Linked DNA regions of Homo sapiens: regions 1, 2 and 4 are each linked to region 3. Evidence: promoter capture Hi-C in human tissues and cell types (Jung and others, 2019). All regions are on one chromosome and are shown on one strand. Each heading gives the region's core, a stretch centred on a gene start or on the middle of the fragment in contact. The rest is flanking DNA. Distances are from core to core; before and after follow the strand shown.

Region 1 (5,879 bases), core at 1,275-3,774, 550 kb after region 3:
AGAGGTATGCCAAGTCAGTATCCTTATCTACAGTACCCTCAGCAGGAACACCCTGTACCTTGTTTGCCTGGAGAACTCCTACTCATCCTTTAACACCCAACCCAAATGTTCCTTACTCTGCAAAACCTTCCTGTATCTATGCTGGCCTGGTGCCACATCTGGGCTGTCACAATACTTTGCACTTCCTCATTATTATGTCTCTGGATTAGGACTATTTCAGCCGGGGCCTACTGCCCTCCCCAGAGAGAGAAGGTTGAGTGTAGGGAGCTGAGGCCAACATCTCTCAGAGTCTGTAACATTGCCCAGCACAGGGCTAGCCATACAGACAACACTCAGTGTGTGTTGAGTGAATGTCAAAAGCAGGGGCTATGCTACGTTAGACAGACTGTGTCCCCCAGTCCTGCCTCAGCCCTCCACTCACCACACCGTTCACCGACAACAGTTGATCCCCACGCTTGAGGCCTCCATGGCGGTCAGCCACACCCCCTGGGATGACCCGGGAGATGTAGATGGGCGAGTTTTGCTCTTTGCCACCCATGATGTTGAAGCCTAGGCCCTCATCCGTCTTGGGTAGCTCCACTACCCTGGGATGTGCGTGGCCCTCGCTGGCTGTGAAGGCAGCCACTGTGGCCTGGGAGAGAGAAAGCGACTGAAGATGAGGGCCCCTTCCAGGTAGGCATGAAAGCTGGGGTGGGGGATGTGGACCGAGGACAGCGATTTAGCCTGGGTTACTATCCCCAAGCATGGGACACTTGTCATGGCACAATGCACGATCCCCCTGTAATGACTGTGCGTCTCTTTCTGTTCACTTGCAAGAGAAAGTGTCCATTTGGTGTGTGTCTTGAATACCCCATACTTGCCAATCTTACTTTTTTTTTTTTTTTGAGATGAAGTCTCACTCTGTTGCCCAGGCTGGAGTGCAATGGCATGATCTCGGCTCACTGCAACCTCGGCCTCCTGGGTTCAAGCGATTCTCCTGTCTCAGCCTCCGGAGTTGTAATCCAGCTGGGATTACAGGCACTCGCCACCACGCTCGGCTTTTTCTTTCTTTTTTTTTTTTTTTGTATTTCTGTGGAGACGGGGTTTCACCATGTTGGCCAGGCTGGTCTCGAACTCCTGACCTCAACTGATCCACCTGCCTCGGCCTCCCAAAGTGTTGGGATTACAGGCGTGAGCCACCGTGCCTGGCCTCAATCTTACTTTTAAACAGAGGAAAGCCAGGCCTGGAGGGAGATCTGAGCCTCCGGACAGCAGCAAGAGGTAGCAGCATCTAACTATTGTGCAGTGAGAGGTCAGAGCGCCATGAGTTTCCTGGTTTGCACTGTACAGATGTTGAAGGTTATCTTCTACCAACCATGCCATACTGTTTCCATTTGCAGTTGCTAAAGATGCCTTAGTATGACATTTAAGTTAAAAATGTGCGATTATTTACTAATAGTAAGGTGGCACATAGATTTAGCAAAAATCATGAGGGAGGAAACAGAAATGACTGGCATGAAGGAGATATTGAGTTCGACTAGGCAGTTAAATAGACACCAGGAGCAATGGGGTGCGGGGCCCACCTTGGCTGTGGCATGGGCTCGGATCTCGGCGCTGCCGGTGATGTCCAGCGTGTCATAAAGCTGCTCATACACCTGGGTGAGGAGGCAGCGGCATCAGGGAGTCGCCAGCTCCTCCAGCCCTAGACGCAGGAGTTCAGGCCTCTAGACCCTCTCCCGCTACCACGCAAGGATCCGCCCCGCCCCCGCAACAGAAGGCCGAGAAAACTACAACTCCCGAAGAACCCCTGAGCTGAAGCGTTGGCACCCCAAGGCGGGCCGCCTCGGGAGCTGCCGGGAGGCGTAGTCTCCGGGCTCGGGACAAGCAGGAGGAGGAGGAGGAGGACGACGGCCACCAGCTCGCGCCCCTGCGCCGCGCGCCCCTCACCTCTCGGATAGCGGAGCAGAAGCGGCTCTGCAGAACTCGCTGGAGGGCCTGCAGCTTCTGCGGCGGCAGCTCCCCGCTGCGCTGGAGCCGCTCGAGGAGCTCAACCGCCCGGGACACGTCTGCGGGGCGGGGGCGGGGCGCAGAAACCCCGAGTGTCAGAGACCCCGAGACGCAGAGAAGCAAGGAGAGCGGCGGAGTGAGGCCGAGCGCACAGTCCGGGGAGGACGGCCGAAGCCTAGTCGGACACCCCGCAGAGTCCAGGGTGGCGCAGGAGAGACTGCCACCAGCGGCCCTGCGGCCCCGGGACCCCTCCACAGGCCGGGTTGTAAGGCGGGCGCCCAGCGTCCCGGCCCGCGCCCAGGGAGCCTCCCACACCTAGCGACCGCCCGGCCCCGGCGCCCGCCCCGCCCACCCCCTCCGGGTCCGCTGGCCCACCCGCACTGGCCTGACCCGGGAAGGGCGGGGACCGGGGGCTGGGTATGTAGGCCGCGGCCCGGGTGGGCAGGGCCCCCTGGCGCACGCTTACCCCGCTCCAGCCCCAGCGGCTCCACCAGCGCAGCCATGTCGGCGCCACAGCTGCCAGCCGCCCGCCTGCCCTGGCGCCGGCGAGGAGGGCGGGGCTGCGCGAGGCCACGCCCCGGGCCACGGGCGCCCCCTGCGGAGGCGCAGCCTGGAGAGCGCCCAGCTCTCCCTCGCCCGACTGCTCCGACCACCTGCCGCGCGCCAGCCGCGCCCTGCCCTCCGCCCCGGCCAGTCGGTCCTGTTGGCGACCCCTCCCACTGCAGGTTCGGTCTGTGTGTACCTTTCAGGATCCGTGTCTGCCTGCCCTCCACACCCGTCTATCCCCTGTCCATCCTTTCCCCACATTCATTCAACAAACTCTTGTGAAACATCTGAGCCCAAGTCATGGACACCGTGGTGAGCAGGACAGCCAAGCCCACGGCCCGAACGAAGCTTCCAGTCTATAGGGGAGGTAGACGACCAACTACGGCTGTGATGAGAGCTGAGAGTGGGGAGGTGATGATCTAGAAAACGAAGGAAATCCTAGAGGAGGGACATTGACATACAGTCCTGGGAGGTAAGATGAACAAGAGGTGGAGCTTGGGTCACCCCCACCACCCAGAAAGAGCCCACGTGGCTGGAAGCAGAGTTAGGATTGGTTGATGATGAGGTGAAAAGGTCGGCAGGATAGTTTATGCCTGGGCTCCTGCGTTGGCATATGCGCCTTGAGGATTTGGGGCTTCATGCAAACTCCTAAGAGAAAAATATGACACTCAAATTTGTATTATTATTATATTATTATTATTATTATTTTTGAGACGGAGCCTCGCTCTGTCGCCCAGGTTGGGCCTCAAATTTGTATTTTAAGATCACTGGGGCCGGGCACGGTGGCTCACACCTGTAATCCTAGCGCTTTGGGAGGCTGCAGCAAGACTACTTGAGCCCAGGAGTTCAAGACCAGCATAGGCAATATAGTGAGACCTCGTATCTATTGAAAAAAAAAAAATCACTGTAGCCACTGTGGAGACTGGTTTGGACAAGAACAAGAGGAGAAGCAGCGGGGCAACTTACGAGGCTACCACAGCCATCCAGGTGGCAGCTAGCACCAGGGCCAAAGCACAGAAGATGGGTGGGCAGATGTGGGAAATGTCTAGACAAGCCTTGGTGCTTGGCTATATAAGGGGATTGGGAGGTGCAGGAGAAGACAGTATTAAGGTGCTTTGGTGCCATTTTTAAGATGGTCTACACTGAAAGAGGGATACTGGATATTTTGTTTTTGAGACACAGTCTTCCCTCTGTTGCCCAGTCTCGAGTGCAGTGGCGTGATCTCGGCTCATTGCAACCTCTGCCTCCCGGGTGCAAGCAATTCTCCTGCCTCAGCCTCCTGAGTAGCTGAGAGTACAGGTGTGCACCTCCACACCTGCCAAATTTTTGTATTTTTCATAGAGATGGGGTTTCACCATGATGGCCAGGCTGGTCTCGAACTCCTGACCTCAAGTGATCCACCTGCCTCAGCCTCCCAAAGTGCTGGGATTACAGGCGCGAGCCACCTTGCCTGGCCGATACTGGATATTTTGAATTTGAGGAGCCTATGCAGAATCCATGGGGAGAAACTATCGATCTAGGTCTAGGGCTCAAAAGAGCAACCTGGTCTGCAGGCATGTTTGAATATTGGGGCATAGGTGGTAAATAAAACCACCGGAGTGGATAAGAATGTCAGGGGCAAGCGAATATTAAGACGGCCTAGAACTGGTCCCCAGACCTCTCTAACACTTAAAAGTCAGGAGGACAGCAGAGAATGGCCTGAAATGTAGGCAGAAACCCAGGTGGGAGAAACCATGAGAAGAGGGGTTTTTAAATTTTATCTTCTTTTTTTGTTTGTTTTAGATGGAGGGGTCTTTGTTGCTCAGGCTGGTCTTGAACTCCTGGGCTCAAACAATCCCCCTGCCTTGGCCTCCCAAAGTGCTGAGTTTACAGGCACGAACCGCTGTGTCTGGCTGCGAGTGTTTTTAAAAAGAAGTGTGGCTGGGCATGGTGGCTCACGCCTGGAATCCCAGCACTTTGGGGGGCCGAGGCGGGTGGATCGCCTGAGGTCAGGAGACCAGCCTGACCACATGGAGAAACCCTGTCTGTACTAAAAATACAAAAGTAGCCAGGCATGGTGGTGCATGCCTGTAATCCCAACTACTGGGGAGGCTGAGGCAGGAGAACTGCTTGAACCCAAGAGGCGGAGGTTGCGGTGAGCGGAGATCATGCCATTGCATTCCAGCTTTGGGAAAAACAGCGAAACTCCGTCTCAAACAAACAAACAAACAAAAAAAGTGAGGCCAGGTGTGGTGGTCACGCCTGTAAGCATTTTGGGAGGCTGAGGCGGGCGGATCACCTGAGGTCAGGAGTTTGAGACCAGCCTGGCCAACTTCATGAAACCCCATCTCTCCTAAAAATACAAAAAATTAGCTGGGCGTGGTGGCGGGTGCCTGTAATCCCAGCTATTTGGGAGGCTGAGGCAGGAGAATAGCTTGAACCCAGGAGGTGGAGGTTGTAGTGAGCCGAGATCGTGCCATTACACTCCAGCCTGGGAAATAAGAGCGAAACTCCATCTTGGAAAATTAAATAAATAAATAAAAAATAAAAAAAGGAAGTGGTCAGTGGTATCATGCTCTAGAGAGGCCGAGGAGATGTGGACAAGACTTTGGAGAAAGTTGGCTGCTCTTCTGGTTCTGCTGGGTGGCGATATGGAGTCCAGAAAAGTGCTTGTTCCAAGTGGGAGGACTAGAGCAGGTTTGTCTGGCTGTCTCCTTCACTGTAGCTCTCTCTTTAGCAAAAAGTAATGTCTTTATGGGATTAAAAACAAAATCAAATAACACAGACAGGCTAATAATAGTGAAAAGCACCAGCCTCTACCTCTCCTAACTCTACTCACTGTGAGAGGGAACTTACAGATGTTTAGTCTGAGAGCTGCTTCTGTGTCTAAGTAACATGCTATTTCTCTCTCTATATATACATATATATGTGTGTGTGTGTGTGTGTGTGTGTGTGTGTTTTGTTGTTGTTGTCGTTACAGGGTCTCACTTTGTTGCCCAGGCTGAAGAGCAGTTGTGCAATCATGGCTCACTGCAGCCTTTACCTCCCTGGGCTCAGGTAATCCTTCCACCTCAGCCTCCTATCTGGGACCATAGGCGCACGCCACCACGTTTGGCTAATTTTTGTATTTTTTGTAGAGACCAGGCTTTTGCGATGTTGCCCAGGCTGGTCTCCATCTCCTGGGCTCAAGTGATCCTCCCACCTTGGCTTCCCAAAGTGTTGAGTTTACAGAGCCACCATGCCTGGCCACCACCTACTTAATTCTTAATTTCACTTGTGTTTTCTAGTTCTAGAATTGCCATTTAACTTTTTGTTAGATTCCAGATTTTTTTTTTTTTTTTGAGGCAGGGTCTTCCTGTCACCCAGGC
Region 2 (6,121 bases), core at 1,783-4,282, 580 kb after region 3:
TCACGTCTGTAATCCCAGCACTTTGGAAGGCCAAAGTGGGCAGATCACAAGGTCAGGAGATCAAGACCATCCTGGCTAACACGGTGAAACCCCATCTCTAAAAATACAAAAAATTAGCCAGGCGTGGTGGCGGGCACCTGTAGTCCCAGCTACTCGGGAGGCTGAGGCAGGAGAATGGCATGAACCCGGGAGGCGGAGCTTGCAGTGAGCCGAGATCACGCCACTGCACTCCAGCCTAGGCAACAGAGCGAGACTCCAAGTCAAAAAAAAAAAAAAAAAAAAAGTACCTGGCTCCCAGGCATGGTGGCTCACACCTGTAATCCCAGCACTCTGGGAGGCCAAGGGGGGTGGATCACCTGAGGTTAGGGGTTCGAAACCAGCCTGGCCTACATGGTGAAACCCCATCTCTACTAAAAATACAAAATTAGCCAGGCGTGGTGGTGCATGCCTGTAATCCCAGCTACTTGAGAGGCTGAGGCAGGAGAACTGCTTGAACCGGAGGCTGCAGTTGGCTAAAATCACGCCACTGCACTCCAGCCTGGGCAACAGAGCAAAACTGTCTCATAAATAAATAAATGGTAACTGGCACATGACCTGCATCATCAAAGGGCACCTACCACCCGCCTGTGCCCATTAAGTTAATTGGCCAGTAATATCTCTCAAGTGCGGGTTCACCAAGGGTGGCAAATCCCACTGAAGACATACCTTTCTGTTATCTACGAAATTCTGCTCTGCAACTCCCTCGCCTCCAGCTGCCCTTACCTACCCAATGCTAGAACGTTCTTCTTGTAACTTCCGACTGTGTGCCAGCTTTTCTCAGGTGTGCTCTGATGCACCTAAGAGATGACCCTTGTCATCCCATTTCACAAATAAAAACACAGAGGTCCAGGAGCCTAAGTCATTCATTCCTATTTATCCCAAAGGTGCAGAGCTAAGATCCCCATCTGCAGTTTTAAGCCCTCCAATACTCAATACTGGGTGCTAAGCCTTTATGAACATCATCTTATTAACAATAAAAGTAGTAAACAGAGTAACAAAGGCTGACATGTGCTGACTGCTTGGTGCCAAGCCCCCTGACATACAGTTTGCCATTTAATTCTCCACCAACATTATAAGGGTGCTACCACTATCCCCTTGCTAAAGATAAAGAAACCAATGCATTAAGAGGATACAACATTTGCCCAAAGTCAGAGCTGATAAATGGTGTGGGTTAGGCATGAATCCTCAACCACTACTCACTGAATTTTCACAAAAATTCTACAAAAGGTGTACTATCAACCCCACTTTTTTTTTTTTTTTTTTTTTGAGACAGTCTTGTTCTGTTGCTCAGGATGGAGTGCAGTGGCGCGATCTCGGCTCATTGCAACCTCCGCCTCCTGGGTTCAAGTGATTCCCGTGCCTCAGCCTCCCAAGTAGCTGGAATTACAGGCACCATGTCCGGCTAATTTTTGTTATTTTTAGCAGAGACGTGGTTTCACCATGTTGGCCAGGCTGGTCTTCAACTCCTCACCTCAAGTGATCCGCCTGCCTCGGTCTCCCAAAGTACTGGGATTACAGGCGTGAGCCACCGTACCGGGCCACAACCCCACTTAAAAAAAAAATTTTTTTTTTGAGAGACGAAGTCCTGCTCTGTCACCCAGGCCGGAGTATAGTGGCACAATCACAAAGCACTCCAGCCTCCGACTCCTGGGCTCAAGCAATCCTCCCACCTCAGCCTCCTGAGTAGCTGAGACTACAGACGCACTCGACCACACCCGACACCCGGCTCCAACCCCATTTAAAACAGAGAAACTGAGGATCACAAAGGTTAAGCCCCTCGCTTAAATCACGCAGCTGGCAAAATGGCCAGAAGCTGGACTCGCAAATCCAACCCGTTGCTCCCCAGAACCCAAACCATTCCTGGCCTGCTCAGTGAACTCACCTCAAACTCTCGAATGTACGGCGCAATGCCACAATAAGGTTGATTGTGGTGTTTTTCATGTGGCAGTTTCTCCAGGGGTGGCAGGTATGGAATAGGGTCACGGGGGGCAAAGAGGGCCAGAAGGTTGGGCGGCAGGAACTGGGTCATCTTGCCAAGTCTGAGAGCAGAAGCAGGACAGCCTTAGGTTAGATCGGGTCTGCACAGAGAAAGCCCCTGTTACTCCTTGACTCTCAAAATAAGAAAGACAGGAGAAAAGTCTCGGAATTAAAACAGGCTCTGTAAGGGCAGAGAACAGTCCTGTGTTGCGGAGAAAAGGGTACGTCTTGGTGGGGGTGGAGGTGAAAGGCCGGTAAAGAAAACAAAAATAACGGCTGGAAAAGGGTTCCTGAAGAGTGAAGTCTCAGAGTCCTCTGACACGAGCTGTGGGGCGGAGAGGTTCCCTGGGAATTTCTGGGGAAATCAAGGACCCGAGGAGGGAGGCCCAGAGCAGCTGTGGCTGCTCGTCCCGTGCCGTGGAGGGCAAATTACGAGATGCAGTTTGCAGGGTCCTGGGGATCGGAAGTTTCCAAGCAAAGAAAGAGAAACATAAGGAGCGAAGCCCCAAAACCAAGTGCTTGTGGGTAACAGACCTGGACCCCGCAAAAAGCGAAAGGAATTATGGGTAAGGGTCCAGGACAACATAGACAAACGAAAAAGAAAAAAGGCCACACACCGCAAGGGCCTGTGGGTAGGGAACCACGAGGGCGCTGTGGGAAGCGGGCGTGGGTGCCCAGAGATTTCGGGGTCCGGGAAAGGGATGCAGAAGGGACCTGTGGCGGGGACGCGGGAAAGGGGCCTGGCCGCGGGGAAGAGGACCGGGCCCACCGCTGGGGCTTCTGGGTAGCGGCCCCGCACCCCGTCGGGCCACTCAGTCACACTCACTCACCGCGTAGCGCCCTCCTCGCTCTGGCGTCTGTCCGGAGGCTCGCGGCGGCTGCGGCAGCCCCTCAGCAACAACAACTCCTGCTTCGGCTTCCACTCCGGGGGCGTCCACGTCCGTCTGATTCCGTCGCCCGCTAAGCGAGCGCACCAGGCCGCTGCTCAGCCACCCGCGCGGCCTCCGATAGCGACTGGAGCAGGGGGTGGGTCCCGGCCGCAAATCCCTCCGCCGTCCTCACTGCGCACGCGCCGTGCGGTGCCAACAACAACCCACACACTAGGACCCGGCGCTGCCGCGGGCACAGCGCACGCGCGAGGTCACTACCCCGCCTTTGGGCACCTTGAGTACCTCAGCCGCGGGGGGCTGGCTTCTGCACTGCGCGCGCGCGCTTGCCCCAAGCCGCCCCTCCACCTCCCGCTTTCCGCGCCGAACCGCCTATGTCCGCGAGACTCTCCCTGATGCTCCGCCCCTTTCCGATCACACTTCCCGGATCTTTCGCGCATGCGTTTTGCGTAGAGAACTGTAACGTACCTCTCCGCCGCCTAGCAAAGAGTCCCTAGGTGAACAGCCTGATTGCGTTGATGTCTAATCTATTCAATCAATAACTATTCATCGAGCATCTCGTGTGTGCTAGGCACTGTCTGGGCTTTGGGGGTACAGCACGTGATTAAAGCAAAGTCTTCTGCTGCTAGGGCTTACATTGTACTGGGAGAGACAATAAAAGCATTTAACTGAATAAAGATAATTTGAGGCCAGGCGCGGTGGATCACGCCTGTAATCCCAGAACTTTTGGGAGGCTGAGGCGGGCAGATCACCTGAGGTCAGGAGTGTGAGACCAACCTGACCAACATGGTGAAAGCCCGTCTCTACTAAAAATACAAAAATTAGCCGGGCGTGGCCGTGCGCGCCTGTAAGCCCGGTTACTCTGGAGGCTGAGGCGGGAGAATCGCTTGAACTCGGGAGGCGGAGGTTGCAGTGAGCCGAGGTCGTGCCATTGCACTCCAGCCTGGGCGACAGAGCGACTCCGTCTCAAAAGTAAATAAATAAATAAATAATAAAAGATAATTTGAGATAGTGGCCAGCATAATGAAGAACGATGGAGCAGAATAAAGGGATGGGAAGTGAGAGCGAGGCTGTTTTAGAAAGGGTGATAATGGAAGGCCCCTCTGAAGAGGTAACATTTGAATAAAGGACAGATAGAAGCGAGATCTGGGGTGGGGCCGGGGGGGCGGTGTTTAACAGTAAGTGCAAAGGTCCTGAACTGAGACCAGATGGCAGGAATCTCAGGTTGTTGGCCATGAGATCAGAGAGCTGGCACTTGTTATTTAGAGCCCTGTTCTTAAGTATTGTATCTTAAGTTTTGTGGATGGATTCAATAGCCTGTTTAATAACTACAGAAATTATTGCAAATTAAAATGACTAATTTTATGTTTCAAGAAAAAGGCCGAGTGCAGTGCTCACGCCTGTAATCCCAGCACTTTGGGAGGCCAAGGCGGGCAGATCACCTGAGGTCAATAGTTCGAGACCAGACTGATCAACATGGAGAAACCCCGTCTCTACTAAAAATACAAAATTAGCTGGGCATGGTGGCACATGCCTATAATCCCAGCTACTTGAGAGGCTGAGGCAGGAGAATCACTTGAACCTGGGAGGCAGAGGTTGTGGTGAGCCAAGATGGCACCATTGCACTCCAGCCTGGGAGACAAGAGCAAAACTCCGTCTCAAATAAAAAAAAGAAGTGGGAGGATCGTTTGAGCCGAGAAAGTTGAGGCTGCAGTGAGCCAAGATTGTGCCACTAGACTCCAGCCTGGGCGACAGAGCGAGACTCCGTCTCAAAAAAAAAAAAAAAAAAAGAAAGAAAAGGGCTGGGTGTGGTGGCTCACACCTGTAATCCCAGCACTTTGGGAGGCCGAGGTGGGCGGATCACCTGAGGTCAGGAGTTCGAGACCAGCCTGGCCAACATGGTGAAATCCCATCTCTACTAAAAATACAAAAATTAGCTGGGAGTGGTGGCACGCACCTGTAATTCCAGCTACCTGGGAAGCTGAGGCAGGAGAATTGCTTGAACCCGGGAGGCAGAGATTGCACGACTGCACTCCAGCCTGGGCAACAGAGTGAGAATCTGTCTCAAAAAAACAAATAAAATAGGCCGGGTGTGGTGGCTCACACCTGTAATCCCAGCACTTTGGGAGGCCAAGGTAGGAGGATCCCTGAGATCAGGAGTTCAAGACCAGCCTGGGCAACATGGCGAAACCCCTTCTCTACTAAAAATACAAAAATTAGCTGGACATGGTGGCATGCACCTGTAATCCCAGCTACTTTGAAGGCTAAGGCAGGAGAATCGCTTGAATCTGGGAGGTGGAGGTTGCAGTGAGCTGAGACTGTGCAACTGCACTCCAGCCTGGACAGAGCAAGACTCTATCTCAAAAAATAATAATGATGGCTGGGCACGGTGGCTCACACCTGTAATCCTGGCACTTTGGGAGGCTGAGGCAGGCAGATCATGAGGTCAAGAGATCGAGACCATCCTGGCCAACATGGTGAAACCCTGTCTCTACTAAAAATACAAAAATTAGCTGGGTATGGTGGCACGTGCCTGTTGTCCCAGCTACTTGGGAGGCTGAGGCAGGAGAATTGCTTGAACCCAGGAAGCAGAGGTTGCGGTGAGCCAGGATCGTGCCACTATACTCCAGCGTGGCAACAGAGCGAGACTTTGTCTCAAAACAACAACAATAAAAATAAAATAATAATAATAATAAAATAAAAGGGAGAAATCTGCCAAAGGAAAGGGACAATAGGCTTAACAGAAGTCTGAAACACAGCAGAGAAGACATTAAACTTTAAAGCTCTAGCCTGGCACAGTGGCTCACACCTGTCATCTCAGCACTTTGGGAGGCCGAGGTGGATGGATCACGAGGTCAGGAGTTCAAGACCAGCCTGGCCAAGATGGTGAAACCTCATCTCTACTAAAAATACAAAAATTAGCCAGGTGTGGTGGCAGGTGCCTGTAATCCCAGCTACTCAGGAGGCTGAGACAGAAGAATTGCTTGAACTCGGGAGGCGAAGGTTGTCGTGAGCCAAGATTGCACCACTACACTCCAGCCTGAGCAACAGAGAAAGACTCTGTCTCAAAACAAAAACAAAAACAAAAAAAAACTTTAAAGCTCCAAAATAATCCCTGATTCCATGTTCTGCATCCAAGGCACACTGGTGCAAGGAGTGGGCTCCCAAAGTCTTGGGCAGCAAAGTCCAGCCCCAATGTCTCCTCACACAGGTTGGAG
Region 3 (5,559 bases), core at 1,138-3,637:
CATGCCTATAATCCCAGCTACTTGGGAGGCTGAGGCAGGAGAATTACTTGAACCCGGGAGGTAGAGGTTGTGGTGAGCCGAGATCGGGCCATTGCACTCCAGCCTGGGCAACAAGGGCGAAACTCCGTCTCAAAAAAAAAAAAAAAAAAAAGAATGTCAGAGCTGACAGGGTGCGGTGGCTCACGTCTGCAATCTCAACATTTTGGGAGGCCGACGTGGGAGGGTCACTTGAGGCCAGGAGTTTGAGGCCAGCCTGGCCAACGTGGCGAAACCCCGTGTCTACTAAAAGTATAAAAATCAGCTAGTATGCTGGCGTGCACCTGTAATCCCAGTCACTCGGGAGGCTGAGGCACGAGAATCGCTTGAACCCAGGAGGTGGGGATTGCAGTGAGTCGAGATTGCACCCCTGCACTCCAGCCTGGGTGACAGAGCAACAATCTGTCTCCAAAAGACTGTCAGAGCTCAACTAGACCTTGAAGATGATCTCATCCAAGGAAGGCAAACACAAGACATTACTGTTAGTATCCCCTTCCCTCACTCACTACAGACATCACCAATTGATCACAGCACTTCCTCTCCCAAGCTGTGAACCCCTTTTCAAGCTAGCACTCCCAGCAGCCATTACTAGTCTGTCCAGGTTCACACCTATGAGGAAACTTGTGGGTCACCTTGATCAAGTCCAGTGACCTCCTCCCCAATTCCTACTCTGCTATTGGAAAAACAGGGGAGCAGGGAAGAGAAAGCATTTTCCCCAGAGTCACGCAACTAAAACAGCCAGGGAGATGTGATTGAAAACCAGCCCTTCTGCCCCTCTATCAGGGGTATTCCTGGCTACAAAAGTCCTAGGGGCAGGGAAGTAGTTATGGAAGGAAAGAGACAACAACCAGATTGACCAAATGCTCTCTGAAAGCCAACCCACAGAATTGACAGAAATCTAACTGGGGAGGGGAGAGGACAGGACGGTTCTGTCCTGAAGGCTGGTGCTAGAGACTCCACACAGCCACCCCCTAGCTGAGTGATCTTAAACTAGCACCTTATCCCGTGTTCTGCCGGCTTCATAGATGATCATGGAAATCTCTTACCAGGCTCTAAACCATAGCAGGGGCGGATGGGCAGAGAGCAAGGCCGAGGGGACTCAGAGGGGGCTGCTCCTCGCCCCAGGGAGCAGGGAAGACATCTTCGAAGGCGGCTCAGGAAGTCTGTTGGCTCTTCTTGGGCAGGGCTTCTGGAGAGGAGGACTTCAGAGACTGACCCCACCAGAGATCCCCTGCAAGCAGTCTCTTTCCCCAACTCCCTCCCTCCCCCGCTGAGGACCTCTCTCCAAAACCCCAAAGACAGAGAATAGAGCCAGATATAAAGAGAGGAGACAGACTGAGACCAGGAGCAAGAGTTAGGAGGGAGCCTCAAATGCTGGCCCCTGGGGGAGAAGGGCCACTCCTCTTACCTAGGTGGAGTTGGAACAGGAGACCCGGCAGCCTCACCACGCCTAAGGAAGGCAGCTAGGACCCTCAGCGTGTCTTCCCGGAGCCCCAGCTCTTCAGAGCCTGCCATGGAGGCACCTGTGAGAGAGAGGGTTAGGGACTGGACTCCAAGGGTTTAGCAAGAAGTGGAGGCTTGGGGACCAGGACTTGTGAGTCCCAAGGAAGGTGCTGAGGGCCTGGACTCCTGGGTCCTTTGGAGAGTGTGGGTCTGGGGGCCTAGACTCTTGAGTCCTCAGACGAAAAAGCGATCAGGAAAAAGACTCTTCGATCCAAGGAAAGGTGGTGGGGCTGGGTGCCCAGATTCGTGGGTCTAAAGGAGGAGGGAGCTGGGGTCCTGGACTTCTGAGTCTTAGAGAAAAAGGAACTGGAGCCCCAGACCCTTAGGTCTCCCAGGAAGAAGAGGCTTAGCGCCCCAACTCCTGGATTCTATAAGAGGCATATGCCAAACTCCTGAAACCCTTAAAGCATCGGGAACTACCAATCCCAAGAGGTTTCAGGGCAAATCTTCCCCTAGGTCCGCGCTTCTTCGCCGCGCAGCCTGCTGTGAGGTGTAGTTCCAAATCTCCGACCCCTGCTGGAATCTAGAGGACCCTGGACCCTTGGATATCAGAGAAGCGGGACTGGGGTGCCCACCACTGGATCCCGGCCCCCTCCTCTTCCCTCCTCACCCCACCCCTCGTCAACACCCCGCTGACCTGGTCCGGGGCCCCACCGCCGCCTCCTCCACTCAACTTGCGGTCTCCTCCACTGAACTCGTACAAACTTTATTAGTTCAACTTTCCCGCGCCTGCGCACTGGGCCGGGTCGATAACCGGCCCAGCGTAGAAAGGGCGGAACGCTGGGTGCACGCTCAATTTGCATGTGACGCTCCCAGCATGCCTCTGGCCGGAAACCCAAAAAAGGGCATAGGGGCGGGAACAGCCCAGCGGGCCGTCCCATCGGCTTTTGGGTCTGTTACCCAAAGAATGATAAAGTTGGTTTTATTTCAAGAAGTCGATCAAAAAGAAAGCCCCAGCGCTCTAGAGCTCAGCTGACGGGAAAGGGGGTGCGCAGCCTCGAGTTTGAGAGCTACCCGGAGCTCCAAGACAGGGGTGGGTTCCAGCTGCCCGCACGCCCCGACCTTCCATCGTAGGTAACGCGGAAGAGCCCGGGAGAGCGTTGGTGGCGTCCGAGAGCGAGGAGCGGGAAAGAGGATGGGTCTGCACGGAGAGTGGAAAGGCAGGCTGTGTACTCTGGGGAAAGTGGAGCAAGGAAGGAGCTACAGTGGCCGACGCTGGAGGTCGGCTGCAGAAAAACTAGAAAAAGTAGGGAGGAAAGAGGAAAAGAGGAGGCGTCTACACTGAGGGGGTTCTAGAGAGGGAGGGGTGGACTCCGTAGATGGGGGTAGTTCAGTCTCGAAACCTGGGGCGTGCTCTGTCCTGGAGGAGGGAGGCGGGCAGTCGGAGGGGAATTGAATGGAAGTTCTGTGTTGGAAATGTTTTGGGAGATCTTCTGTAGGGGGACTGTGGAAGGGGGTCTACATTGGGGTAAGTGCAGGAGGTAGAGGCTTACACGTGAATCGATTCTGCACTGAAATAACTAGGGAAAGAGGATGCTACCCTGAAAGTGGGGATACTTACTTTCGATGATGTGGGGGAGGGAGGAGGTCTATACTGGCGGAATTGAGGGAGTGGAGGGTCTGCACTGAAGACGCTGGGGAAGGATGTGCCATGGATATGGGAAGGAACCCTAGCTGATTAGAGAGCCTCTCGGGAGGATGGGAGGATGGGAAGAGGAGGTTTCCTGTTTGTACCCCCGAAAATATGGGTGAAGGACCTGTGCCGTGGCCCGTGAGAAGGAGGTCTGGGTGCGGAAACTCCAGGCCAGGTGGGTCCGGGGGAGGCCGGTCGCGCCCAGGAAATGCCCTATACGCGCAGGCCGGACCATGGGAACCCCAAAGCCACGGATCCTGCCCTGGCTGGTGTCGCAGCTGGACCTGGGGCAACTGGAGGGCGTGGCCTGGGTGAACAAGAGCCGCACGCGCTTCCGCATCCCTTGGAAGCACGGCCTACGGCAGGATGCACAGCAGGAGGATTTCGGAATCTTCCAGGTGCGTGCGACGACCTGGGACGCTGGAAACCCGGAGCTGCGCGCTGGGCGGAAAGGACTCCTAGTGGGCCCGGCTGAGAAGGCGGAGGTGGCGCGCGAGGGGCGGGCTCGTGCCAACGCTGGTGGGTGGGGCTAGAACGGGAGGGGCGGGGCTAGCCGGATCCGCTGACTGATGGTGGGGCGCAAGCAGGGTTGGAGCTGCAGGGTTACGGGAATAAAACCGGGAAAGCCGGTTAGTACGCAAAGGAAATGCATCCTGGGGGTTTGGGGCTTTCTAGAGGCCGGGGCTCTTGGTTGTAGGATAGATACTGGGGGATGGTTCTTGAAACATCAGAGGTGAGGCCTGGAGCCCCAAATCTGAGGTTCCTAACTACCGAATTAGTATATGCCAGAGGTGGTAAACAGTGTGAGGGGCGGGGTTATCACAGAGGGTGTCGCGGGGCAGGTGGTGCACGGGATTAGACACCAAGTTGGACTTGGAAGCCTGGCTTAGAAAGAAAAGGTTTTTGGGCCGGGGGCGGTGGTTCACACCTGTAATCCTAGCACTTTGCAAGGCCAAGGCGGGAGGATCGCTTGAGCCCAGGAGTTTGAGGCCAGCTTGGGCAACATAGGCTCCATCTCTTTAAAAACAAAAGCGAAACAAAACAAAAACCAAAGAGGTTTCAAAGGCTTTTGAAGAGGCCGAGCACAGTAGCTCATGCCTGTAATCCCAGCACTTTGGGAGGCCGAGGAGGACGGATCACCTGAGGTCAGGAGTTCAAGACCAGCCTGGCCAACATGGTGAAACCCCATCTCTACTAAAAATACAAAAATTAGCCAGGTGTAGTGGTGCCCACCTGTAATCCCAGCTACTCAGGAGGCTGAGACAGGAGAATCGCTTGAACCGGGGAGGCGGAAGTTGCAGTGAGCTGAGATTGCACCATTGCATTCCAGCCTGGGTGACAGGAGTGAAACTCCATCTCAAAAAGAAAAAAAGCCTTTTGAAAACTAGAGGTGGGGGATGGAGGTAGGTGGGACGGGGGGATTTGGGGATGGACCTTGCAGAGTTAGAACTTGCCAGGGAAAGAGGGTGGTGTTAGGACTCGGGAGACAGGGTTAGGGCCCCAGGAGCAGGATCTAAGTCGTCCTCCCCCACCATCCTGACACCACTGTTGCCCCAGGCCTGGGCCGAGGCCACTGGTGCATATGTTCCCGGGAGGGATAAGCCAGACCTGCCAACCTGGAAGAGGAATTTCCGCTCTGCCCTCAACCGCAAAGAAGGGTTGCGTTTAGCAGAGGACCGGAGCAAGGACCCTCACGACCCACATAAAATCTACGAGTTTGTGAACTCAGGTCTGCCAGCTTGGGGTTCGTGTGGGAGGCTGGGGCCCCAAGGGTTCCTGGCACTCCTACTCCCCTCACCACTTTTCTCAACAGGAGTTGGGGACTTTTCCCAGCCAGACACCTCTCCGGACACCAATGGTGGAGGCAGTACTTCTGATACCCAGGTGAGAATGTGCCCAACTTTCATGCCCCTCAGTCTCCGACCTGTCTCCATGGGCCTTGTCCTCTCCCTCTAGACGATCCCCCCACTCCCCTGCCTCCAGCCTGCCCCTCACCTGAGCCAGTGCTGACCCTGTCTGTCCCTGCCCCGGTCTCCTCAGGAGAAAATTCCAAGTCTTCACCCAGCATTCAAGGCCCGAGCACACCTTCCCGGGATTTCATGGATTTCGATTCGCAGGGGGCTGTCAGCCTCTTGGGAACTGAAAAACTCCCTCACCTTGATCCTGCTGAGGCCCAAGCTGGGGGAGCATCCCCTCTGAAATTCTACCCAGCCTGCTTTGCCCAGGTCTTACCTGCATAGAGCCAGATCCTTGGGTTGGAATGGTAGCACCTGGCGTTCATTAGTGTTTGTTTGGCTGTTGATGCCATGGCTGGCTCTGTCCCCAGGCTGGAAGCCCCTTGAAGGCAGAGCTCAAGCCTGACCTCCCTGCGTTGCTGAGAACAGACC
Region 4 (6,261 bases), core at 1,722-4,221, 860 kb after region 3:
AGTTACAGGCACAATCTGGACTTGTGATGTGGAGCATCTTGGGCCATCATAGAACAGCCCTGGTCTGTGATGGGGGAGAGTCCTGGGCTATAAAGGGGGCAGTTCTAGACGTGATGGGGTCATGTGTGGGCTGTGACAAGGGCAGACTGCGGTATGATGGGGTCTCTCCGGGGCCGTGATATGGGGACAGTCCTGGAGTATGGAGGGCACTGCTGGGCTTTGACAGTGACACTCCTGGTCTTTGATGGTGATACTCCTGGGCTGTATGGGACATAATGGAGGTTCTATCACATTATAGAGACCTGCCCTGTGAACCCCCAAACGTACTTTATTTCTTTGTCTCGTCTTTTCTTTTTGACCGAGTCTTGCTCTGTTGCTCAGGCTGGAGTGCCGTGGCACGATCTCGGCTCACTGTAACCTCCGCCTCATGGGTTCAAGTGACTGTGGTGCCTCAGCCTCCCGAGTAGATGGGCTCAAGCGATCCACCTGCCTCAGATTACAGGCATGAGCCACCATGCTGGTCTTTTTTTTTTTTTTTTTTTTTTTTTTTTTTGAGAGACACTCTATCACTCATGCTGGAGTGTAGCAGTGTGATCGTAGCTCACCACAGCCTTGACCAGTAGGTCAAGGTGATCCTCCCACCTTAGCCTTCTGAGTAACTGGAATTACAGGTGTGTGCCACCATACCTGGCTAATTTTTAAATTGTTTGTAGAGACAGGGTCTTGCTATATTGCCCAGGCTGATCTTGAACTCCTGGCCTCATGCAGTCCTCCCACCTCTGTCTCCTAAAGTGCTGTGATTACAGGCATGAGCTACTGAGCCAGCTGCCTACTTTCTTTCTTTGTTTTTTTTCTTTTTAATTGAGACAGAGAGTCTTGCTCTGTCGCCCAGGCTGGAGTGCAGTGGCACCATCTCGGCTCACTGCAACCTCCGCCTCCTGGGTTTAAGCAATTCTCCTGCCTCAGCTTCCCAAGTTGCTGGGACTACAGGCGCCCGCCACCACACCCAGCTAACTTGTATTTTCTGTAGAGACAGGGTCTCCCTATGTTGCCCAGGCTGGTCTTGAACACCTGGCCTCAAGCTATCCTCCTGCCTCGGCCTCCCACAGTGCTGGGATTACAGGCGCGAGCCACTGCGTGTGGCCTCTTTCTATGATTAGATCTATTTTGGCATCTCTTGTTTCTTGGCGTCAATTTCTGTTTTTGTTTTTTTTTTTTTCTGTTTGTGCGCCCCTTTCTGTGTTTCTTTTTCTCATCCTTCCTCTTCCATCTCTTACTCTCTTTTTTTCATCTTGGCTCTGAGGGCAGCTCTCCTGCCCACAGGCTGGCTGTCGCACTGTGTTTGTGTCTCTCATACTGTGGGTGTCCTATCCCTCTGGGCAGAAGCATGGCTGCAAGGCTGAGCAGTCTAGATGTCGCCACCCAAAGGCAATCTGGGGACCCACGCTCTGATCACCCCGGAATCCCTGGAGCCTCACACCAGCAAGACCACGCTGCAGGCCCATCTCCCAGCAACTCACCTAGCGACAAGTGACCACGCCCATTCACGTCCATCTTCCAGAATCAGTGCCAACTCACCCAGCTCACAGGGCAGGCCAGGCCAGGCCACTCTGTCTCTCTCAACCTCACGCCCCAACGCCTCCCCACAGGGCTGGGGAAAGAGGCCTTGTGAGGTCAAAGGTCACCAGAGAGGGCCCAGCCTGCTGGACACAGCCAGACCTGCTCTTCCTACTCCCCTCTGGGAGGACCCGCCTGAGCCTCATGCAGTGAGGACTGCAGTGGCTCCCCAGGCCCCTGTAGCTGCCCCTCAGCCCCAGGGGCTGAAGGGAATTGGAGTCACTGCCAAAATGGGTTTGTATTTCAGGTAATCAGAGCCCAGTTGATCGAATACCTTCAGAGAATAAGCACCTGTACTCCTGGGTCTGGCGGAGGAGGGGCTGGGGAACTGGACTCCTGGGTCTGAGGGAGGAGGGGTGGGGCCTGTACTCCTGGATGTAAGGGAGGAGGGTCTGAGGCCTGGACTCCAGGGTCTGAGGGAGGAGGGGCTGGGGGCCCAGACTTCGGGTCTGAGGGAGGAGGCAGCTAGAGTCTGGACTCTTACTTAGGTCTGAGGGAGGCGGGCCTGGGGTCTGCACCCCTGAGCTCTGGGGGAGCAGGACCTGTCGGTCCTTGGTCTTCTAAGGCCTGTCAGCACTTGGGTACCCGGAGGCCTTCACTTACCTGTGTGCCTTCCCTGGTTGTTTTCTTGTCTGAGCTGATCTCCAGGCTGCGACCAAAGGTCTCTGGGGTGGGAGGCGCTTGCGTTTGACTTTGCCGCAGCATGGAGGAGGGGGCGGGAGCTGACTCAGCTCTTTCCAGCGAGCCCTCGTCAGGGCAGGGAGGGGACTTGGCCTCCTTCAGGACCACCTGCCCCGTCTAGAATGGACTGAAACTGGGACAGAACAGGCAGGCCAGTGGGACCTCCAAGTGCAGGAGGTGGCGAGCGAGCTGCCAGGGCCCCTGCTGTGCCCCACTCACCCCCTCTCTCACTTCTTTCTCCACCCAGATCTGGGCACGAAAGCTTCTCTCTGTCCCTTGGCTTCTGTGTGGTCCCAGAAGATATGCCTCCTCCAGTTTCAAGGTGAAAGGAGGGAACTCGATGCTTGGCTCTGAGAGAGGAGGGGGCTGGCAGCTGGTTTTGGGCATCTCCAAAAGGTCCACAGCCCAGAGATGGCAGTGAGTGGTGGTAGCTTAACAGCCTGCCATTGGGCCGCAGACAAGGGATGAAACTGCATGTCCCAGAATCCTCCAGGGTGACAGGTCCTTCTTCTCTATGGGTCTGAGGCCCAGGGCTTCATGGGAGTTGTAGTTTTTCAGCTGGGAGGTTGTGGCCAGATTCTAGGATACCCCTGTCTTTCCTCAGGCTGCAGACCTGCAGCTGGAAATGACACAGAAGCCTCATAAGAAGCCTGGCCCCGGCGAGCCCCTGGTGTTTGGGAAGACATTTACCGACCACATGCTGATGGTGGAATGGAATGACAAGGGCTGGGGCCAGCCCCGAATCCAGCCCTTCCAGAACCTCACGCTGCACCCAGCCTCCTCCAGCCTCCACTACTCCCTGCAGGTGGCATGGCGGCCGGCCTCTCTCCCTGTCCCTGTCTGCATCTCCTCCTCCTTGCTGTGTCTCTTGCCAGGTGTACCTCTCTTGGTTTGTTTGTTGTGTGTTTCTCCTTTCTGTGCATTCACCATTTGTTTTCTGAGGCCTTCCATGCTCCAGGCTCATGCTTGGTGATGCTGGGTTCCCCGAGATGAGCAGACCCGGTTCCTTCACTTGGAAAACCCCATGCTGTGGGCATAACTCAGTATGATCTGTGCTCTGATGGAGGCCCTGTGGAGGCCAGTAGAGACCCCCAGCCTCACTTGAAAGAAAGCATGGCTTCTTCTGGCATAGAGGGAAGCTTAGAGGGGGATGGTGGGAGAGGTGACAGGGTGATGGTAGGAAAGGGGACAGCCGGGGGGCTGGCGGGAGAGGGACAGCCAGGATGATCGCGGGAGAGGGGACAGCCATTGGGGGGGGAGATGGTGGGGGAGGGCACAGCCAGGGGGATGGCTGGAGAGGGGACAGCCAGGGGAGGGATGGCGGGAGAGGGGACAGTCAGGGGAGGGATGGCGGGAGAGGGGACAGCCAGGGGAGGGATGGCGGGAGAGGGGACAGCCAGGGGAGGGATGGCGGGAGAGGGGACAGCCAGGGGAGGGATGGCGGGAGAGGGGACAGCCAGGGGAGGCATGGTGGGAGAGGGGACAGCCAGGGGAGGGATGGCGGGAGACGGACAGCCGGGGGAGGGATGGCGGGAGACGGACAGCCGGGGGAGGGATGGCAGGAGAGGGACAGCCGGGGGAGGGATGGCGGGAGAGGGACAGCCGGGGAAGTGATGGTGGGAGAGGGCCAGCCGGGGGAGGGATGGCAGGAGAGGAGACAGCCCAGGGGGGATGGCGGGAGAGGGGACAGTTGGAGATGGCGGGAAGGGGGACAGTCGGTGGGGGATGGCAGGAGTGGAGACAGCCAATCCAAACCCCAAACGGGAGTAGAGCCTGGTACATTTGGGAGAAATTGCGGTGTTGGAGCATGGTTAAGGAGGCTGAAAATGTCAGGGCCATGGAGGAGCTGAGGGGCTGGGGCCTTGTCCAAGGGTGCTGGGAGCCACTGAGGGCTCTGAGGAAGGGAGGGGCAGGGCCATGTCTGGGTATAGTAAGAGCCCTCTCAGGCCATGTGGAGGGCAAGAGTTGCAGGCTAGGAAGCCGGGCTGGTGACCAGGTAGACCTTGGGCCTGTCCCCACATGGGGACCCAGGAGGAGGAGCGGCTTTGTGGCACCTGGTGAGCCTGAGATACTGTGAAGTTTCTAGGAGACAGATCCAGGAGGCATTTGGTTTTAGGACTTATAGCTGCGGCTGAAAGCAAGGTCTTCAGAAGGAAACTTTGGTTGAGACAAGATTTAAGTGAGCATCTTACAGCTCCAGTAACTGGTTAGCAGGTTGGCTGATTTTAGTCCTCCAGGGCACAGTTCTGTGGCATGAAGACTTTTATTCCATTCCTTTCTTTCCTTTCCCTCCCTCCCTCTGTTTTTTCCTTTCTTCCTTCCTTTCCAGAATTTTAAGGTTTTGTTTTTTCCCCTCTCCCCTCCCACTCTGGACATCTAAGCAACACCAGTCGATTCTGTACAGAGCACACACACCTCCAATCACAGCCAGACACTCCTGCCAGTACATAAGCGTGATGGGCAGGATTCCGCCTGCTGAGCCCCCAGGAAGCTGGTTACTTGGAGACCACCACACACTTCTCCCTTCAGCCCAGCACAGCAGTTGTCCTCTGGCTGGGGACCCAGTACTTTTTCTTCAGCTGAGTGAGAGCAGAGGAAGCCTGTGGCCCTGGCAGACAGAACGCACTGCTGTGATCCCGCGGGTCCAGGGGGCGGAAGGGGGAGGATGAGGGAGTAGGACAATGCTGTCCCTATGTCACCCACACTCCAGGGCATGTGTGGATTGCAGGCCGACCACGTGTATTATTTTTTATTTTATTTTTTCTTATTTATTTATTTAGAGACAGAGTCTCACTCTGTCCCCCAGGTTGGAGTGCAATGATACAATCTCGCTCACTGCAACCTCCGCCTCCCGGGTTCAAGTGATTCTCCTGCCTCAGCCTCCCCAGTAGCTGGGATTACAGGCGCCCGCCACCACACCCGGCTAATTTTTGTATTTTTAGTAAAGCCAGGGTTTCACCATGTTGGCCAGGCTGTTTTCGAACTCCTGGCCTCAAGTGATCTGCCCACCTCAGCCTCCCAAAGTGCTGGGATTGCAGGCGTGAGCCACCATGCCTGGCCTTATTTTTTATTATTGTGGTACTAATACGCATACATAATAACACACAGCATCAAATGTGGGATTCCAACCATTTTATTTGTTTGTTTGTTTGTTTATTTATTTATGAGATAGAGTTTCACTCTTGTTGCCCAGGCTGGAGTGCAGTGGCACAATCTTGGCTCACTGCAACCTCTGCCTCCCAGGTTCAAGTGATTCTCCTGCCTCAGCCTCCTGAGTAGCTGGGATTATAGACATGCACCACTATTGGCTAATTTTTGTATATTTAGTAGAGACACGGTTTCACCACGTTGGCCAGGCTGGTCTCAAACTCCCGACCTCAGATGATCCACCGCCTCATCCTCCCAAAGGGCTGGGATTACTGGCGTGAGCCACGGCGCCCAGCCTCCAACCATTTTAAAGCCCATAATTCAGTGGCAGGCAATGTTATGCAACCATCAGCACCATCAAGGTTCAGAACTGTTTAATCCCCCATACCTATTAATCAGTACCCATTGTCCCTCACCCCAGCCCATGACAACCATTAGTCTGCTTTCTGTCTTTGTCTACCTGTATTTGTTTATTTATTATCTTTAAATAATAGGGATGGGGTTTCACCATGTTACCCAGGCTGGTTTTGAACTCCTGAGCTCAAGTGATCCACCTGCTTCGGCCTCCCAAAGTGCTGGGATTACAGGCGTGAGTCACCAAGCCTGGCCACCTGCATTTTTGTTGTTGTTGTTATGACTCTTTTTTTGAGAAAGGGTCTTGCTCTGTAGCCCAGGCTGGAGTGCAGTGGCACGATCTTGGCTCACTGCAGCCTTGACCTCCCAGGCTCCAGCGATCCACCTGCGTCAGCCTTCCAAGTAGCTGGGACTGCAGGTGTGCACCACCATGCCCAGCTAATTTTTATTTTATTTTATTTT

The links. The method cuts DNA at HindIII sites, captures the fragments that hold promoters and counts their contacts. A contact is called where the count stands out against the background at its distance.
Region 1: a contact is called between the fragment with the promoter of LIN7B here and the fragment with the promoter of IRF3 in region 3, in 6 of the 25 tissues and cell types used here (adrenal gland, bladder, dorsolateral prefrontal cortex and 3 more).
Region 2: a contact is called between the fragment with the promoter of SNRNP70 here and the fragment with the promoter of IRF3 in region 3, in 1 of the 25 tissues and cell types used here (dorsolateral prefrontal cortex).
Region 4: a contact is called between a fragment that was not itself captured here and the fragment with the promoter of IRF3 in region 3, in 1 of the 25 tissues and cell types used here (pancreas).

Annotation. Positions count from the first base shown.
Region 1 is chr19:49,111,015-49,116,893 of GRCh38, reverse strand. LIN7B (lin-7 cell polarity scaffold B) reads right to left here and starts at 2,524. Exons shown (of 6, transcript NM_022165.3): 1 at 2,453-2,524; 2 at 1,927-2,045; 3 at 1,563-1,634; 4 at 422-631. The coding sequence starts at 2,489. RefSeq lists a silencer at 2,125-2,704. The HindIII fragment of the contact is 18,984 bases long and covers 1-5,879 here.
Region 2 is chr19:49,082,362-49,088,482 of GRCh38, reverse strand. SNRNP70 (small nuclear ribonucleoprotein U1 subunit 70) reads right to left here and starts at 3,032. Exons shown (of 10, transcript NM_003089.6): 1 at 2,847-3,032; 2 at 1,922-2,078. The coding sequence starts at 2,068. RefSeq lists enhancers at 2,847-2,936, 3,287-3,356. The HindIII fragment of the contact is 18,802 bases long and covers 1-6,121 here.
Region 3 is chr19:49,662,685-49,668,243 of GRCh38, reverse strand. It overlaps IRF3 (interferon regulatory factor 3), which reads left to right and starts at 2,387. Exons shown (of 8, transcript NM_001571.6): 1 at 2,387-2,613; 2 at 3,398-3,570; 3 at 4,730-4,901; 4 at 4,986-5,056. The coding sequence starts at 3,406. BCL2L12 (BCL2 like 12) reads right to left here and starts at 2,311. Exons shown (of 7, transcript NM_138639.2): 1 at 2,177-2,311; 2 at 1,445-1,559; 3 at 1,083-1,225. The coding sequence starts at 1,551. RefSeq lists silencers at 2,139-2,218, 2,259-2,408. The HindIII fragment of the contact is 43,433 bases long and covers 1-5,559 here.
Region 4 is chr19:48,803,359-48,809,619 of GRCh38, reverse strand. It overlaps BCAT2 (branched chain amino acid transaminase 2), which reads left to right. Exons shown (of 11, transcript NM_001190.4): 2 at 2,546-2,620; 3 at 2,903-3,103. LOC105372432 (a long non-coding RNA gene) reads right to left here and starts at 2,251. Exons shown (of 3, transcript XR_936017.4): 1 at 2,221-2,251; 2 at 1,521-1,651. RefSeq lists an enhancer at 2,457-3,128. The HindIII fragment of the contact is 4,226 bases long and covers 859-5,084 here.